Linked DNA regions of Homo sapiens: region 1 is linked to region 2. Evidence: promoter capture Hi-C in human tissues and cell types (Jung and others, 2019). All regions are on one chromosome and are shown on one strand. The core of a region is centred on a gene start or on the middle of the fragment in contact, and the rest is flanking DNA. Distances in the headings are between cores, read along the strand shown. Region 1 has its middle 390 kb from the start of OCA2. Region 2 holds the start of GABRG3 (gamma-aminobutyric acid type A receptor subunit gamma3).

Evidence for each region. Contacts are between HindIII fragments. The study calls those that stand out against the background at their distance.
Region 1: a fragment that was not itself captured here is called in contact with the fragment with the promoter of GABRG3 in region 2 in 1 of the 25 tissues and cell types used here (dorsolateral prefrontal cortex).

The regions. Positions count from the first base shown.
Region 1 is chr15:27,706,664-27,713,295 of GRCh38, forward strand. No RefSeq gene overlaps it. Among named protein-coding and RNA genes, the nearest start is that of OCA2, 390 kb to the right of the region's middle. The HindIII fragment of the contact is 5,648 bases long and covers 2,505-6,632 here.
Region 2 is chr15:26,967,638-26,974,331 of GRCh38, forward strand. It overlaps GABRG3 (gamma-aminobutyric acid type A receptor subunit gamma3), which reads left to right and starts at 3,544. Exons shown (of 10, transcript NM_033223.5): 1 at 3,544-3,951. The coding sequence starts at 3,899. The HindIII fragment of the contact is 15,270 bases long and covers 1-6,694 here.

The DNA.
Region 1 (6,632 bases), core at 4,079-6,578, 740 kb after region 2:
CAGCTGTGCCTCTTTTCTTAGTTTCTGTAAATAGAATTGTGCCGTAGGTGCTATTTGTGCCCGGAGGTTCATCCATATTGGTGTGTGTCTTTGTTGCAGGTCATTTATCTTCACCACTCAGCACTATTCCATTGTGTGAATGTTTCATGCGGTATTTATCCATTCTGCTGTGGATGGACAGTTGGCAATTTCTAGCTGGGCTACTATGTACAATGCTGATTTGAACATTCTACCTGTCTTTGGAGAATATATGCATGCACTGCTGTTTGTAATATTGGTAGGTAATAGTTAAACCTCCTCCTCCCTTGGTTTTTTATGAAAGCTCAGGGTAGATTTTATTTGGATTAGTTTCCTTAGTGCCCTAGACAGCTGTGACCTGATTTTATCTTTCTTGGTTTCTTGAATTACAAAAAAAAAAAAAAAAAAAAAAAAAAAAAAAAGTTTGCATTGAAATAACATTTTTACCAGGGTATTTCTGGAAGCTAAATTTTATATCTAAATATAAATGTTTGAAGCATGGAAGCCCATTTCTAATTGAATAAATGATAACAAACCATTTTCACAGCATCTTGATCATGCCACTGTTCTCAAATGCTTGATGAGGTCATCCAGAGATGCTGTCCCCCAGTGGTGAGTTAATTCAGAGGGTCAGTCCATGTGCTCCACTGGCTGCCCCTCATTAGCTGGCATTAGAGAATGGCCAGGGCAACACCAGGGACTGCTGGAAACCCCATCTGAGTGGGTCTGGATGATTGCCTAGCTACATGGCTGGCTTCCAGGGAGGGAGGGTTAGGGCCAGCCAGAGTAAATGTGACCCGCACTCCACCTTCCTCTTTCAGATTCATCCTCTGCCACGGCAATGAAGGTTTATGTGTCTGAGATTCTTCATCTTCTTCTGCAGGGCACAGCTGTGCTGCCAGTGCTTCCAAAGAGCAGAGAAGCCACTTTTGCTCCCCTGCCTGGTTCTCTGCTTGAACAGCTCTGCCAGCTTATTGCTGGGTGCAAGGAGACTTTCTGGGCAGCCCTTAAACTTCCGGAAATGCAGACTCTAAGGAGAAAGACTGCAAAGTTCTTCAAAGTGGCAGAGGGGCTGCTCAAGACTAAGGAGGTCCCAGTCATCCTCTGCCCAGGCCAGCCCCAGCTCCTCAGCATGGCCACCAGCCCAGCGTGGGAATCTGGGGCACTCTCCACCCCACCTCCTGCCCCAGGTGGCACCCACAACCACTTCTTAGCCTTTGCCAGCCTGACCCATGGCCAGAGTGGACCAGGCTCCACTACCTTCATTGTTACAGGACTCTGCCCAAGACATTTCTGAATGAGATTAAGATATTACATATTACCCAAGACAGCACTCAGTGTGCAGGCTTCATCCCACTGATCAACCTTCCCCTAGTAGTGTCGTCCACTTACAAACCCTCCTGTCTGTTGTTTCAGTGGGGTTGAACAATTCCCACTGCAATAATCTGAATACATTAGTTCTTGCCTTTATAACTTTGTCAGGTACAATTTTTGCCTTGACAGTGTCATAAGCTATAACTTCTAAAGGAGATGCCAAACACCCTCTCTCTCCTGTTACTTCATCAAAATATCACCCCTGTGAGTCTGGAAAGCTTCAGAGTTTTGTACTAAATCTCATTAAATATAAGCCTTCAGCACCTGTCAGCCCATCTGCTCCTACCCAGCTTCAGCCTTTCCCTTTATGTTGTCATTGTCACAAATTACATCTTTATACATTGTGTGCCCATTAGCAAAGATTTATAATTATTGTTTTATAAATGTGTCCTTTAAATCATACAGGAAACAAAGAGGAGCTACAATCCAGAATAATGTTAGCTTTTATATTTATCTATGTAATGACCTTTACCAGACTTTTTTATTTCTTTGTATAGATTTGAGTTACTGTGTAGTAACTCAAGCATCTAATAACTAGCAGCCTTTCTTTTACACCTCAAGTACTCCTTGTAGCATTTCTTATAAGGCAGGTCCACTAGCAACAAGTTCCCTCAGGTTTTGTTTTTCTGGGATAGTATTAAGTTCTCCTTCACTTTTGAGGTATACTTTTGCTAGATATAACATTCTTAGTTGATAGATTATTTTTTCCTCTCAATGCTTTAAATAATATCACCACACTGCCATCTGGCCTCCATGTTTTTTTCTGTTAATGTTATTGAGGATCCCTTGTATGTAACTGGTCATTTCTCTCATGTGACATTCAAGATTCTCTTTGTCTTTTGCTTTTGACAGAACTATAAAATACCCAGTTATGGATCTCTTTATCATTCTTGGAGTTTGTTGAGCTTCTTGGATGTTTAAATGCATGTCTTTTATCAAGTTTGGAAATTTTGAGCATTATTTCTTCCAATATTCTTTCTTCACAATTCTTTCTCTTCTCCTGATACTCCCATTACCTGTATGCAGTGAATTTTCATTTCAGTTATGGGGCTTTTGAGCTCCAGAATTTCTGACTGGTTCTTTTTTTACCACTTGTCTTTATTGACAGTTTCTATCTATCTATTGAGACATTAGTCTCTTTATTTCCTTTACTATTTGTCCATGATTTTCTTAGCTCTTTCAGCATTTAAGACAGTTGATTTAAAGTTTATTTCTAGTAAGTCCAATGTCTGTGTTTCCTCACAACAATTTCTTTTAATGTTTCCCCTAAATAGAGCATGATTTCCTGTTTCCTTGTATGCTTCATACTTTTTGTTGAAAACTGGACTTTTTAAATATTATAATACGGTAACTCAGGAAATAAGTTTCTTCCCCCTCCTCAGGGTTTGTTTTTGTTGCTTGTTTTGGGTTATAATTGTTTGATAACTTTTCTAAACTATTTTTATAAAGTGATATGGTTTGGCTCTGTGTCCCCACCCAAATCTCATCTCGAATTATAATCTCCACATGTTGAGGGAGGGACAGGGACCAGCCATGTGGAACTGTGAGTCAATTAAACCTTTTTCTTTATAAATTACCCAGTCTCAGGTAGTTCTTTATAGCAGTGGGAAAATGGACTAATACATAAAGACTGTATTCTTTGCCATTTGTGGTCTCTGATGTCTCTGTTCCTCTAGCTTGCAGTCAGCTAGTGTTTTTGACAGAGATTCTTTGAATGCCTAAAGCCAGAAAACAAAATGCAAAAACAAGAAACCTCTCACAGTGTTTGCAGAATGGCCCTTTATTGGACACTCCTTCAGTGCTGAGCCCAGCCATTTACAATTCTGTGTTAGCCTTCACTACCTGCTGACACCAGCCTTAAAGGTTAGCCAGAAGTAGAGGTTTAGAGTCTTCTTGAGTCTTTTCTGAGCTTATTTCCTTCCCTGGGCATGCTGTGGCTTTCTAAATACCCTGGAATACATAGGTGCTTTTCAATACTCTAATCTGCCAAAGAATCTCTCTTTTAAGCTTTTCATCCCAGGATTTTGGTATGTCTTTTGTTTGCCTGAAATGTAGTATTTTCCCAAGTCACTAGAAGGTGGCTCACTTGCCTTTCAATGTTCCTGAGGAATGCTCTCAGCATAGCCACTTTTCTGCTCTTAGAGAGTTCCAAGTTAAGCGAAACGAAGACAAGCACATTGCATCATTCCTTCAGGTAACACCCAGACAGATCAAAACAGACAAAGATAATTCTTTGAGAAAAGTTCTTCTCTGTTTCCTCTGAAACCAATGACTAGAGTCCCACAGTCAAAACATGGGCTTCCATCTTCAAGAGCAATGACCAGCTAGGGAGGGAGGTAAAACAAGGGAAAATAAAAATGCCACAAATCTCTCCTACTGTTTTTATATTGCCTCAAAAAAAGAAAATAAAACAAACTTGGCTGGTGTAAATCTTTGACCATTTTCTAGAATTCGGATAAAGTAGATCCTCACAGATTTTCTCATTATTTCAGCATTTCTGTGAAGGGTCTAGCTAGCCTTAGAGCTACCCACTCTGCCATTTTTGCTAACATGACTCCAGAAGTGATGCCTACTGTTTACCTACTGCATTGTGGTTGGCAGAATAATGGCCACTTAAAGATGTTCATGCCCCAATACCCAGAACCTGTGAATATGTTACCTGGCAAAGGGATTTGCTCTTGTGATTAAGATTACAGGCTTTTATATGAAGAAAATTTTTCTGGATTGTCCTGGATGGGCCTAATCTAATCACATGAAGCCTTTGGAAATGGGGAATGACCCTCAACTCACAGCTAACAAGAAAAGAGGTATCTCAGTCCTACAACTTCAGGCAACTAAATTCTGCCAAGAAAAAAAAAATCAAAAATCACATCTTTCTTTTGAGCCTCCAGAAAGGAATGCAACCCTGCCAACACACTGATTTTAGCTTGATATGACCAGTATTGGACTTTTGACCACAGAACTGAGAGATAATGAATTTGTGTTATTTTAAGCCATTTAGTTTGTGGTTATTTTTCAAGGCAGCAATAGAAGATTCATACAGGCTATTGGTACCTGGAAATGGTACCTGGAAATGGAATGCACCTGTAACAAACACCTAACTATACAGAAGTGGATTTAAAATTGGATATTGGTCAGAGGTGAGAAGAATTTTGAGGAGCATAATAGAAAAAGCCTCCGTTGTCTTAAACAAACTATTCATGAATGTTAAATACTTCCAATGAAGGCTAAGAAGAAAGTGAGGAGCATTATAGAAAAAAAGTAAATCACCTTAGAGAATACCTAAATCTGCATGAACAGACCATTGATAGAAAAAATGGACATTAAAGGTGCTGGTGTTAAGAGCTCAGAAGGAAGTAAAGAATATATATTGGAAATTGGAGGAGAGGTAATGCTTCTTATAAGTGGAAAAAAGCCTAGCTGAATTATGTCACAGTTTTGTGACAAGAAGAACCTGTAAACAATAAAATTAGATATTTAGAAGAGAGATTTTCAGGCAAAATGTTAAAGATGTGTTCTGTTTTTTTTCTAGCTGCTTATAGTAAAAGGCAAGATGAAACAGATAAATTGAAGGAAGAGCTATTAAACAAAAAGGAACTAGAACTTGATGGTGTGGGAAATTCTCAGCATGTCTGAACAGTGAGACGCATTAAAATTAAAAGATTTACTATCAGGAAAGCATACTCTAGAGAAATGGCTTAAAGTAAACCCCTTTGAATGATCAAAAAGTCAGTTTTCAGTTACACAAAGGATCTTTGAAAACATTAAGGGTAGGACTCACAGACCCCCCAAATCAAGCTACAGAGCATCTAGGAAATGTAACAACATCGTCCCTTGGCCATCTTGACAAAAACCAAAAATTGAGATGAAATTATCTAGAAAAGATTTGTGGACACGCCACTTGTCTAATGGAGTGAATCACCATGATATACACAAAAGACACACACGGTTCCTGAGAATTTTTTATCAGCAGAAACAGTGCCAGCTTGGACTGAAAGGGTTGGGGAGAGTACAAAAGAAAAGAAAGCTGTTGAACATGAGAGAATAACTTGGACTCTCCAGATTCCACAGGCAAGAAACTGGATGATAAAATTACTCAGCTGAGAGTGTAAGTTACCTTTCATTAAGAAAGATTAACTCAAACGGGAGATCTCAGAGTGTAGAGAGTGGAGTCAGAGGCTCAAAAGGTGGAGCTTGAGGAACACAGGGTTATTTCTAAGCCTTGACACATAATGGAGTTTTCCTTGGCTGGATTTGAACCCAATGACTTCTTTATTTCTTCCATTTCCTCCCTCTTTGAATAACAATGTCTATAACCCTTATCCTACTGTATTTGGGGAGCAGATAACTTATTTCTGTAGTTTAACAGTTTCACAGATAAAAAGAAATTTTGTCCTAAGATGGATCATACCAGATCCTTACCCATACTTAATTTAGACAATTTAGATAATGATACCTGAGACTTTTGAGCTGATGATATTTAAACAATATTTTTAGATTTTGAGTTGATTTTTTAATTGGATAAGACTTCAGGGAACCTTGGGACTGGGTGGATGTATATTTGCAACTGGGACAGGTGTGACTATTTGGAGGCTAGCGGACAGACTGCAGTAGTCACAATAGTCCTTCAGAGGAGTCCATGACTTCCTCCTTGGGCTTTGTGAATATGTTACCTTACGCAGCAAAAAGGATTTTCAGATGTGATTAAAGATTTGAGGAGGAGATATTATCCTGGATTTTATATCCAGGATATAAAATCCTGGCCCAGGATTTTTTTGTGGGCCCAATTAATCATATGTGTCCTTAGAAGGCGAGAGTCTTTCTCAGCAGTGGTCAAGGTAAGATGTAACGGGGAAGAGGAGGCAGCCTGCTGGTGCTGGCTATAAAGATGGAGGAGGGGCCATGAGCCAAGGAAAGCAGGGAACCTTTAAAGCTGGCAATGGCCCCAACTCTCAGTCAACATGCAAACTTGAATCTAAACCCTACAACCACAGGAATCTGAATTTTGCTAGCAACCTGAATAAGCAAGGAAATGGATTCTTCCCTAGATCTCCCGAAAGGAAGGCAGCTCTGTCAACACCTTGGTTTTAGCCTGGAGCAGCCAGTGTTGGACTTCTAATCCACGTTAACTTTAAGAAAACAAATTTGCATTGTATAAGCCACTAAAATTCAGGCAGCAATAAAAAAAATAATGCACATATTTTCAGTAGGACAAGCAATCAAACTTTTGGGCAACTGCT
Region 2 (6,694 bases), core at 2,294-4,793:
TTGATTGACAAGGGAAAGGCGCTTTTTCAAAATATAAAACCACGAAACATCATGTAACCCAGAAGTACAGTTTTGGGAGTGGGAGAGATGTTTCTCAAAGCAGAACCTGGGGCAACCACGGAGCAGCGGATGCGCGCTGAAGGGCGCGTGGGCAGCGGGGTGGTTCCGCGGCCTGCGGGGCGCAGCGCGCCACCGCGGGATCTGAAAGGCGCTTCCTGGCAACGCTGCTAGGGTCCCGCCGCCCCCGCCGAGGTGAAGTCCAACCCGCAGCTGCGCGGGCAGCCCAGGTCTTCCCCAGAACCTCCGGAGCCGAGGACCCAGCGCCAAGCCAGGAGCAAAGCAGCGCGCCAGGCTGGAGCTGTTCCGTCATTACCGCCACGTCTGCGCTTCGGTTGTGAGAACCGATTCGTTACCCTAACCTCTTAGGACTAAGAGCCAGTCTTCTGGTGGCGCTCGCTTTCACTTACTTTTTATTTCCCTTTCTATTCCCGCGAGCTAGGGGGAGAAAGTGTAAATCCCGCCCGCTTCTCCAGGGCTGAAAATGGAGAGGCTGAGGCGGCTTGGAGAGTGCGCACTGCGCATGCTCCGCAGAGCATCCCCGCAGGTCAACCGGGGCAAGGGAGAGACATGAAAGCCTGTGGCTTCTCCTTTGAAGATTCTTTTTTTTTTTTTTTTTTTTTTTTTGAGACGGAGTCTCGCTCTGTCGCCCAGGCTGGACTGCGGACTGCAGTGGCGCAATCTCGGCTCACTGCAAGCTCCGCTTCCCGGGTTCACGCCATTCTCCTGCCTCAGCCTCCCGAGTAGCTGGGACTACAGGCGCCCGCCACCGCGCCCGGCTAATTTTTTGTATTTTTAGTAGAGACGGGGTTTCACCTTGTTAGCCAGGATGGTCTCGATCTCCTGACCTCATGATCCACCCGCCTCGGCCTCCCAAAGTGCTGGGATTACAGGCGTGAGCCACCGCGCCCGGCCCCTTTGAAGATTCTTAACCTTGCATTTTGCTTTCACACTTAACGCCTAGAAAGCTTGCTTTGATTTTTCCCCAACCTTTCAGCTCATTTAGCTTTAAAAAACAAAATCTCGTTCCAGGAAGAGGGGAGGGGCTTTCCAAGAGAAAATGTTCAGACGTATCAAGTTGACCTACTCAATCTAATAAATGAAGCGAAGCATTCCAAAGGCCAGAGGGGATCATCTTGCATTCATTCATAATAGCACGTTGAAATATGCAAGAAAGGAAAAGAATAAAGAACACAGGGATGTAAAAACAGTATTGCGTTTTCTTGTTCACTGATTGAATTGTAAAAAAAATAATAACAACAAACAAATCTCAGGACACTTCTTGTTTACTGATATTTTACAAAATCACTCAAGTAACAGTCTATTTCTATTATAAACAACTTGTGAGTATTTTAACTCATGCTCAAAAAATAAATAATATGGTAAGAAGTCCAAAACTTTCATCAACTAGCCCAACAACAAATGTCAGCTGAGCACCTACTCAGGCAGACAGTATGGTATAGTGATTAGGAATGAAACATTGGAGCCAGCTGCCTGGCTTTTAACCCCCAGTCCTCACCTACTAGCTGTGTGATCCTGGGGTAAGCGACTTAACTTCTCTGTGCTTTTTCTCTATATGCGAAACGGAAATAATGTTGTGAGAGTTAAAATGAGTTAATCAATGTAAAGCCTTCCTGTCGGCCCTGGCCCCTGTTATGTGATCAATGTCAGATGGTTATTTTTACTTATGTTCCTATTACTGTGTTAAGAAGGGAAACACAAAAGAATTGTTTCTACTTGCAGCATTCTTGCAGCACACTCAGGCGTGGTGGCTCATGCCTGTAATCTCAGCACTTTGGGAGGCCGAGGCGAGCAGATTACTTGAAGTCAGGAGTTGCAGAAGAGCCTGGCCAACATGGTGAAACCCCATCTTTACTAAAAATACAAAAATTAGCCAGGCGTGGTGGTGGGTGCCTGTAATCCCAGCTACTCAGGAGGATGAGGCACGAGAATCACTTGAACCCGGGAGGTGGAGATTGCAGTGAGTCCAGATGACACTACTGCACTCCAGCCTGGGCGATAGAGTGAGACTCAAGTCTCTTATGTGGAGACGACATAAGCAATGAAGGAACAATAAATCATCATCTAACTGATTTTTAAAGTGCTCAGATTTTGGTACAGAAAATTAGAGATTAGGGCAGAGTATGATAAAGGCTCATATTCCCCTGAAGCCTAAAGGAGTGGTACAGGTGTTGGAAGTGGAAGAATGCAGGAGCGTCAGAGTCTTCATCAAAGAGGGGACCTTATAGGGCATGTGCACCTAAGTAGGAGGGATGTGCTGGGCAGAGGAGGATGAGAATGCCAGAAAGAGTCCTGGAAAGGCGGGGAGCTGGGTGAGTTCAGCACCTCACAGAGACAGAAAGGTGATGCCAGGGAGATGACAGCTCCATTGTTGAAAAACAATATTGTCATTAACAACTGCACTCCCCTCCACTTCATGCCTATCCAGAAACAAGGGGGAACACACCAGAGGAATACAGGCCCATGCCACCATGCCCAGCTAATTCTTTACTATTTTTTGTAGAGACAGGGTTTTTGCACATTGCCTAGGCTGGTCTCGAACTCCTGGGGTCAAGTGATCCGCCTGCCTCGGACTCCCAAAGTGCCGGGGTTACCGGCTTGGGCCACTGTGCCTGGCCGAACAAAGCTATTTGACAATATTAAAGAAACAGTTATCACACCCTTACATAATTCTATGAATAGCAGTTATAAAACATTTTCTAAGAACTTTTTGGGGGTGATAGAAATGTAAAATTCCTAGTGGATTTACTACACTGTTGCGATTGCAATACTTACATGGTGCAAGACTAACTTTCTGAATGATTATGACAAATGAAAGCGTAAATGCCATTTTCGGTTTTTGGAATATGAAAATACATGGAATGAGGCGCACCTCATGCTTCCACCAAACGGAACGTCTTTGGCTTCTTGCCTTAGGATCTTTCTAGCTCCTACCTTTAACATGCCTTTCCACCTCTACTGTTTATTGCTATGTGTTAGTCTCTCTTTTCTGTAAGAAAGGCATAAATCTGGGGTGCTTTTTTCCCAAATATTCCCGCAGAAAGCCACCTTTCCAAGCACAGAATCTTATCAGTGCCTAGGAGTTCAGCCGACTTAGCACGAAGAGTGCGATGGAAGGGCTGCTTTTGGCAAACCGTCTCAACCCCGGGCGACGGCGGGCACGGGAGGTCAGGGAGCGCTGGAGGAAACCTGCACTGGGGTAGAAATGGCTGGAGGAAGGCGGACCGCGGGCTCGCTCTCATGGTGCCAACCCCGGGGACCTTTCTTCAGGCTCCCTGCGGGATCCCCAGCCTCCCCTCCCCCTCGGAGCTCCGCCCCCTTCCTGGCCTCAAACTCCGAGTCCATTCAAACCTCGCCTTCCTCGCCCTGCGCGTTGTCAGGCGTGTAATTGGGGAAACTCCTCCCCGCCGGGACCGCCTCGGAGGCGCTGCCAGGGGACAGCCGCCCAGCTGCCCCCACCTCCCAGCACAGCGCACACAGCCCCGGCCTGGGCACCCGCGCCCGCTCGCGGCTCCAGGCGGGGTGGGCGGCGCCGCGCCAGGGGGTCCCCGGCGCCCATTGCTCCCGCCGCCCGGTTGCGCGGACCGGCGCTAGTGCGCGGGTGGGGGCGGCGCGCCGCGGTGGCCCGGCGTCCCGTGTGCGTCCAGTGTGCGCCCCGCGGGGGCGCGGCCAGCGCCAGAGTAGATACCTGTCCCGCCCGCCGCGGCCAGCAGCCTCGGAGGAAGCCAGGGCAAAGAGGGCCGGCGGAGACCAGGTCCGCGCCGGAGGAAGCCGCGCCCGGCCGAGGCCCCGGACCCTGCGCCCCGAGCTCCACGGCACCATGGCCCCGAAGCTGCTGCTCCTCCTCTGCCTGTTCTCGGGCTTGCACGCGCGGTAAGTGGCGCGGGGGCCGCATCCCCGGAGGCCCCGAGCTGGGCGACAGGGCGGCGGGGGGCGCTGTCTGCTGGAGTCCCTGGCGCGCCAGCCGTCGGCTGGGCTGCGGCACGGCGGGCCGGGAGGGGACTGGGAAGTCGGTCTGCACCTCACCTGTCCCAGCTCCCTTGGACACGGTCATCTGCTTTTTCCTCTGCAGCCGGGAGTGTGGGGACTCAGATTAATGGGCTCGTCTCCTGACGCTTTTAGGATCTGGTGGTTTTAAGGGGTTTTGAGAACCAGGTTCAGGGGGCAGGGGCCATTTCTGGCTCCTTACCGACCCCTAATTCCCACCTCAGCTGTTTCAGGGGCTCACACACACACACACTTTGGCTGACATTCTCTGTCATTTCCATCACTCTGAAATTTCCAAGAACCCGGGAACCGTGGTTCTAACTGCCTAGTTTAGACCGGGCTGGAAAGAGCTAATGCATTGGAGGCAGGCGCGGGGGGATTGGAACCAGGTGGGCAGAAGAAAGCCCTGCTTGTCTGGGAGGACTCCCCTCCCAGGTCCTGCAAACACACACACACACCTTCCACATCAGCCACTTTCACACAGAGGAACACACGCACTCCCACCCCCATAAAGCACGCATGTCGAAATGGATAATAAGGCTTCTGCCTGGTAATGTAAGAAATCATCTCACCATAAATTCCGCAACCTTCCTCCCAGTACACCAACCGGCTAATGGGAGCTTAGAATCACTCTAGAAGAGATGAAGAGGGCGCATGAGGATACAAGGACAGTGGGACCCAAAGGGTTAAATCCTGTTGCTGTAAACACAACTGGAGATTCTGGGTTTAGTTTCTTTAATTCTGTCTCTCTGGCTGGATTTCTGGCTAGAGCTTGCAGACTGTCCTGTTATTTGAAAATTGGAGCAGTGTCTGGCCTTTACCTCTTTCCCCACCCTAGGAAGCTCAGCGTGCCCCTATCCCCCAAACCCTCTTGTTTTGACGCTTCTCCATTTCCTGGGTCTGGGAGCTAGAGAATCAGAGGGCATCCTTGCGTGCACAAGCCTGGCCACCATCAGGAGGCAATGCCAGGAGGCCTTGCCTTTTCATTCCTATTTGTGAACTACCAAGGAGCTAGGAAGACACATGAATAAATCCTACTAAACATGAAGGGGGCCCCCAGTTCTCACTCCTGAATTGGGCAGGGGTGCTTACCCTGAGGAAGGAAGCCCTGGCCCTCCCCCTTGCAACTGCTCCTCTTTGCTGAGTTGAGTGTGGAAGCCGACTCCACCGGTGACTCACAGGCAACTCTTTCAAAGAGACAGAGCACTCCTTGGGCCTTTCAGCTGAAGTTTCTTTCTGTCTCAAGAGGCAGCTGGTGCAAGCAATGGAAACATGCTTTCTGAGGTTGCTTCTTCCTGGTTGTATCTCTGTTTAGAGATGGAGAGGGAGGCAGACAGCACCGGGCATAACGCTGAGGCCGGCAGTCACATCTCTGCCACCTTTCTATTGCCACCAACTCAAACGAGTGACCAGCCGTTCAGGGTTCAGTAATCAACTGTTTAGGTCTCTGGATTCTTAACATTCTAGAAGAAACACTGCCTATTGTCCTCACTACTGCATGTGCTTAGTAGGAAGATACCTCAGCCTCTGCCTTAAAACAGTCCGGTTACTGGGGATTCCCAAATATACACAAAATCTCTTGGGATTCTTCATCCTTCCATTCTACTAAGACAGACATAATGATTTTCATTTGTTCTCTATTTGGGCTCGTTCCCCAGCTTTCATAATAGAGCTTGCAGATCAGTTAAAAAATCCAAATTTTATACTAACTTTATTGCTATATGCCTCTTCTTTGAGAGTGTCTTTGTTCTCTGAATGGGTTTTACAGACATGTGAAATAATCTGATGTGCAGTGTCATCTTTCAAAACTGTTTTAAATTTGGAGGGGTTTCTCATTTGCACTCTGAGTCCCTTCCTGCTGTGGAAGTTCCTTGGATAAGGGTCTGATGGCTGTGCTTTGTGGTGATGGCTCAGCAGCTCCCCAGAAGGGGGGACTCCCCATTTTGACACCCATGGGCATCATAAAACGCACTGATTCCCACTCAGACCTTGGTGATGCCTTAACTGCTTTCTGAGGTTTAGGAACTCCTTTTAATGCTTAAAAATACTTCAGACTTTTTCTCTGTCCTTCCGCTTTAAGCTAAGGTGTAAGACATGAAAATAACATCTGAAGGTTGAGTTGTTGTTTGACTATGACAATACATCACTGATTTATTTTTAAGGAAAAGCTAATTTCAGTAATGGTGTTTAGGATCCAACAATGCAAGTAACAGTGCTCATAAAGATTATATATAACTTACTTAGAATTTAGGGAAAAGAGAATATTTCTATATTATCCACATTCTAATGGGTCCCCTGAGATGAGATTTCATTTTTGTCAAAGCAAGGATTTTCCTGTGGGCCTGGTGGTCTGGCACTAGCAATGTGAGGCTTCTATTTCATTTTCAGGATTTGAGGGAGAAGGGTGCTCACTGCCCAGGGACCTAGAGCATCTCGGCCTCACTCTGCCCACTGCCTACCCAACCAGGCTACACAGCTGGGGCCCTGATATGCCTCCCAAAGGGGTGGAAGAGAACGTTCCTGCTTTCTTTTTCTTGGTCCCCCTCACTGCCACCTGTCCTGGCCTCTAAGGAGGAAGCGCTTGCAATTTCAGGAAAACCCTCTCATCACCACTAGAGGGAGAATTAGG